2 separate regions of the Homo sapiens genome follow, and region 1 is linked to region 2. The links are contacts of gene promoters, found by promoter capture Hi-C in human tissues and cell types (Jung and others, 2019). All regions are on one chromosome and are shown on one strand. The core of a region is centred on a gene start or on the middle of the fragment in contact, and the rest is flanking DNA. Distances in the headings are between cores, read along the strand shown.

The links. Contacts are between HindIII fragments. The study calls those that stand out against the background at their distance.
Region 1: a contact is called between a fragment that was not itself captured here and the fragment with the promoter of UCN3 in region 2, in 2 of the 25 tissues and cell types used here (H1 embryonic stem cells and heart left ventricle).

Annotation. Positions count from the first base shown.
Region 1 is chr10:5,284,288-5,287,395 of GRCh38, reverse strand. It overlaps the pseudogene AKR1C7P. Among named protein-coding and RNA genes, the nearest start is that of LINC02561, 15 kb to the right of the region's middle. RefSeq lists an enhancer at 2,636-2,930. The HindIII fragment of the contact is 3,084 bases long and covers 1-3,070 here.
Region 2 is chr10:5,363,553-5,366,537 of GRCh38, reverse strand. UCN3 (urocortin 3) reads right to left here and starts at 1,572. Exons shown (of 2, transcript NM_053049.4): 1 at 1,308-1,572. The HindIII fragment of the contact is 10,177 bases long and covers 1-2,985 here.

The DNA of each region.
Region 1 (3,108 bases), core at 279-2,778, 79 kb after region 2:
TGTTCTAGGAAGCTTGCTAGGGCAGAATCTCAGATGTAGTCATTAGACTATCCACTGTTTGAAATTTGAGGCAGAGCGTGTACATATTATCATCCTAACGTTGCAACGCCAGCTTGGTGAGGTGACGTCTGTGTCCTGGGTAAAACCAGGCCAACTATTGACTGCAACCCTTACTAATAACATAAACAGTTGATTAACACCTATTTTGCATGTTATATGTATGGTATACTGTATTCTTATAATACAGCAAGCTAGAGAAAAGTAAGCTAGAGAAAAGAAACTCAAGAAAATCATAAGGAAGAGACAATATATTTGCTACTCATTAAGTGGAAGTAGATCATTACAAAGGTCTTCATCCTTGTCTTCTTCACACTGTGTAGGCTGAGGAGAAGGAGGAAGATGAAGGGTTGGGGTTGCTGTCTCTGGGGTGGCAGAGGCAGAAGAGGTGAAGGAGGGGGAAGGGAGGCAGGAGAAGTAGGCACACTTTGTAATTTTGATTGAAAAAAATTCATGTATAAGTGGGACTGTGCAGTTTAAACCTGTGTTATTCAAGGGTCAGCTGTAATATGTATGTAGTGTGTGTGTGTGTGTGTGTGTGTGTGTGTCGATTGACCTGTCCTTCCTATTGAGTGCCTTAGAAAAATTCTCCCAGTATCAGAAGTTTTCCCGTTGGTTATTCTTGTACAATTGATTCATATGGAATGAGATGTGATTTTTCCATGCTCCAGGGTGAAGCCAATTCCACTAATTTATTTGGGAGTAGAAGCTTACAGGAGGTTAGTTGCTGTCCTCGGAGTGTGCAAGTCTATCATGGAAACCCAAATGATCAAAAGGGGAGCAGGAGGCCAGCAGACTATGAAGATGCTATTGGATAGCAGAGACATGGGCTCAACCTAAATGCCCGTCCGTGGTAGACCAGATAAAGAAAATGTGGTACATAAACACCGTGGAATACTGTGAAGCCACAAAAAAGAACTAGATCACGTCCTTTGCAGCAACATGGATGAAATTTGAGGCCATTATCCTAATCAAACTAACACAGAAACAGAAAACCAAATACTGCACGTTCTCACTTACATGTGGGAGCTGAACAACACACAGGGATACTGGGAGGGGAACGACAGACATCGGGACCTTTTGAGGTTGGAGGATGGTGGAGGGAGGGGATCAGAAAAAATATTTATTGGGTACTATGCTTATTACCCAGGTGACAATCTGTACACCAAACCCCTGTGACACAGTTTACACATATAACAAACCTGCACATGTGTCCCTGAACCCAAAGTAAAAGATTAAAAAAAAAAAGGAAAATGCCATTGTGGAAATACATGGATTTTCTCTGAGTCAGGCAGATCGTTGACTCCTCTTACTCCTGTTTTATAGACCCCCAAGAGCAAGGCTGGTGAAGCCACCGAAGTGGCTATTGATGCAGGCTTCCGTCACATTGATGCGGCGTTCTTCTACCAAAACGAGGAGGAGGTCGGAAAGGCCATTCGAGAGAAGATTGCTGATGGCCCTGTGAAGAGAGAGGACATTTTCTACACCACTGAGGTGAAATTTCTGTGTGTGCAGTGGCCAGAGGCCACCGTCAGTTCAGATGTATTATTTAGAAAAACAATGTGGTCTCAGAACAATGTATTTACCTAATATTGTGAAGGCACATTATCAAAACATAGGAACAATGTATTTCTTACCTAATATTGTGAAGGCACGTTATGAAAACATAGAAAAGGCTTTTCTCTGAGATGTGTGAAAGGTGGGACACTGTTCTTCAATGTCTCTGAGCGGCAGGTATTATTCATATATGAGATGAGATCGATAATACTTAAGTAACTGTTATACGATTACCCAAGGCATTCTGGGGCCACTCCGTTGATTGTTCAGTAATTGTTCTCAGGACGTATCAAGTGAGGTTGGGATGTTATTCAGAAAAGGGAGCCAGACTGGGAAATACTTTTTTATTTTTCAACTCAGCATTGAGTTTCCTGAATGTTATAACATTTTCCTAGGGTGGAAAACCTTTCTTCCAATGTAAATAAAGCCTTGGTTACTGGCGATACAGCCTATGCCTGTTTACACTGACGACAACTTGTTTTTAGAATGCATCTCTCAGCAGAATTGTTTTGAGGAATTCATTATACAGGACAGTAGATTCCATTCCCCGTGTCCTGACATTTCTCGACTGCTCTCAGAGGACGATGCCATTAACCCTTGATGCATTAAAGTTGATTTTCCTGCTCCATCTAAGTTTTATTCACAGTTTTCTTACATTGCAGTCATTCAAGTAAATCTCAGCATCTCATCAAGGATGTAATTTACCCTGAATAATACAAATGTAGCCCCAGTTCTTCTAGTTTGAGACCACAGTGTTTTGTTACTCATGTGTCAATTTCTGTTATGTTTAATTTTGGTCCCCAAGTGTGTGAAATCATAAGCTACTTTTTATTTCTTTTGTTCACTGCAGCTTTGGACAACTTTCTTTAGACCAGAATTAGTTCGCCCAGCCCTGGAAGGGTCACTGAAGAAACTTCAACTGGACTATGTCGATCTCTTCATTATCCACAATCCATTGGCTATGAAGGTCAGCTTTTGTTTTTTCCTTCTTATGCCCCAAACAGTTTCATCACTGTTACTAGCACCTCCATTGTCTCATTCCAGCTTGATTTCCTGGGTTCTTTCCGAGAGGGGTAGGTTTGAGTGAATTGCATAGAATTGCTAAATCATTCACGAGTCTCCTTCACAGCCGAATGACATTGCAATTTTCTGTCTGTGCTCATCCCCCAGCCTTAAGCGAGATGCAGGTTCGATGATCTCACTTCCTCTATGCTAGAAACATGAGGGCATTGCCCTGCATTTCTTAGTGCTTGTGTTCCTGAGTGTAGGTTCTGAGCTATTAGGTTACTACAGACTACAGAGATACAACGTGAAATCTCCACCTCTTTATGGTGAGGGTCTCTCCCGTATGTACCCTCAGCCCACAGGAGAGAGAGGTACATGGGATGGCACATGTGGCACAACTGGACTCCTTTGGGCTTCAGTGATCCAACCTCTCATCACAGTGGACATTGGCTGAGCACATCTGATGTCCTCATTATCCAAGTTGGGTGA
Region 2 (2,985 bases), core at 323-2,822:
TCTCCCCAAAGAAGAAAAGATACTCTGTACTTCCCACATAAAGTCTAATTTTGCAAGTTTCTCCTTTTACATTCCTTGGACTCTTCTGCCATATTCTTGGTGAAACAGCACAAAAGTTTAAGATTTCTCTGCAGTCTGCCACGAAAATAACTGGGCACCATCTAGTTATTAATACATTTGAGGGGCAAAGCTCTACACCTGTATTTTTCTCTGGGTGCCTGAAACTCAACCATTCCTTTGGGCTATGGTGACAGTAGCACTTGTCGAGGATGCTGTAAAGAGACACAGTTACTTCTGGGAGCTGTGGCAGAGCCAAGCACTGAAACGTGAGGGACCTGGGTCAGCCTCCAATTCCCAGCACCTCACAGGGAGAGGACAGGACATGAAGCAGCAAAGGCAGGAGGCAAACAGTACTGATCACACATCTCTGCCAAGTGCAGAGCTATTCCTGTGGGCTCCGTTTGTCTGCAAACACTGATAAGAAGTTAAACTGAAACTAGACCACTTAAAACGTTTTAAAAATCTCACATTTGTTATTTTTGGTAGGTGGCTATGCTTGGGAAAGAAATTGCGAACAGGAATTTTCAGAAAACATAAACATCAAACATCCATCTCCCCTTCACAGGTAGGAGTTAGCCATTGTAGGTATCTGCACACACCCCCGCAATGTTCCTAGTGTGGCAAAGGGCTCTGGGCTTTGGTGGCAGAGGACCTGGCTGGGGAAACTCCCTTGCCTCTGACTTTTCTTGGGTGAATCCCTTAACCTGCATTTCACTTGCCGCGTCCTAGGAAGGAGACGTTACCTGCTTCACAGGTGTGCCCGAGAGTGACGGGAGATGGCACAGGTGAAGGTTTGTGGCACAGGTAAACAGTAAGTGCAGGTGTCCTCGCTGCTTTGCAGGCGGCGTGGAGTCATGTCCTGTGGCTCCCATTAGCCCCGGCATCCCTACCCCATCCCCATTTGTAAACTGTCTCCGAGGACTGACTTTCCTGTGCACAGCTGTGCTCTGTTCAGAGAAAACAGATTTGTGTGAACACCTTCTGCCTCTGATCTAACACCTTTGGAAAGAGGGTCTCTCTATACCAACGTGGGAATGTGATTGTGCCTCCCTGAGAAACTTCCCCTGGTCCCTTTGGGGCTGATTTCTGCTGATTGGGTGGGGGGCGTTCAGCATCGCTCCCTTGGGCTTCCACCCAGGGGCGCTAGCAGCTCTCATCTCTCACACCTGTCTAGTGCATGGCACCTCCTGCTTAAATTAGGGCAGATACATTTACCCTTCATAAGTCAGTCCCAGCCACAAGCTTACCCGAGAGTGGACTTCCCTCCGCAGCGAAACGCTCAGGGAGGCCGGCGCAGCTTCAGGGCCAGGAGGGCGGCCCCGTGCACGTCCCCATGAACTTGTGGCTGCTCCGGGGTCTCGGCTCCTGCTTCTCCGGTATTGTTCCTAAGTGGGCTGTGATATTCCCTCTCTATGGAAACGGTCCCCTCCCCTGTGTGTATATAAAAGTGACAGATCACAGGGTGGATCGTAATTCCAGACGTGGTGTCTACGCTGGGATGAGATTTCATTTAAAATACAACCAGAACCAGCCGTCCACGTCATGCAGACGACAGGTGCTCCAACCTCGACCCCTCCCACCTCTGCTTCCCACCCCGCCCTTCTACCCCCCAACTCCTTTTGCATCCTAGCAACTTGCTTCATTGATAAAAGCAAAGAACAAAAAAGAAAAAGAAGAAATAAAAACTCAAAACAAAACAAAACAAAAATCCTGGTAAAGTGAGAAGCAGTGTCTTTGAAGAATTTTATTGCTGATCTTAGTTCTAACTAATTTCAGTTTCCCCCACATTCCCCTTGCCCTAACTCTCCTTCTGTAAATGTAGAGCCTGGACCTGCTTTGAAAGCAGAGAAGGGGTTTAAAATCCACCTGTTGCCGTGTTGTTTTGTGGGTTCTGACCGTGCAGCGTCATCTGGCCGCACACGTAGCCCCTTGTGCTTGTCACACACTCGGTGCCTACTCCCCACATAAAGTCTAATTATGCAAGTTTCTCCTTTCACATTCCTTGGGCTCTTCTGCCGTACCCTCAGTGAAACAACACGAAAGTTTAAGATTTCTCTGCAGCCTGCCGCGAAAATGACTGAGCACCATCTATTTGTTAATACGTTTGAGGGGAAAGCTCTACACCTGCATTTTTCTCTGGATACCTGAAACTCAACCATTCCTTTGGGCTATGACAGCAGGTCATCATACACCAGAGGTCTGGAGGTTTTAGTGGGAAATGGCTTGGATTTTACTCGTTTATGCATCCTATATTTATTGAGGACTTACTGTGTACCAGGTATTGCCAAGACACCCACGAGTTCAGAGATAAGTAAGTTGTGGCCCCTAACCATACAGGGCCTCATGGTTTAGAAAGGTAGGGAAGGCTGGGTGCGGTGGCTTATGCCAGTAATCCCAGCACTGTGGGAGGCCGAGGCGGGCAGATCACGAGGTCAGGAGTTCAAGACTAGCCTGGCCAACATGGTGAAACCCCGGCTCTACTAAGAATACAAAAAAAATTAGCCGGGCATGGTGGCGAGTGCCTGTAATTCCAACTACTCAGGAGGCCAAGGCAAGAGAATCACTTGAACCTGGGAGGTGGGGGTTGCAGTGAGCTGAGATGGCGCCATTGCACTCCAGCCTGGGCAACAGAGTGAGACTCCATCTCAAAAGAAAGAAAGAAAGAAAGGTAGGTAAAAAATGCTACAGAAGAGAGCAGTCCTGTCTACTCAAGACAGGAGAGGAGAGCAGGAGGGGTTTCAGACAGAAAGGATGGATCAGCATGGACTGAGCCAGGGCTGAGAGGAACGGGAGAGAAGGAGGACGATGGGAGGGAGGTGTTGGTGGGTGCAGAGGCTGCTCTGCACTAAGGTGCTCCAAAGGCCTGCGGAGTTGGGAGTTTATTCCATATGTAATGGGGAGATGTGGGAGACTACGGTCTGTTGA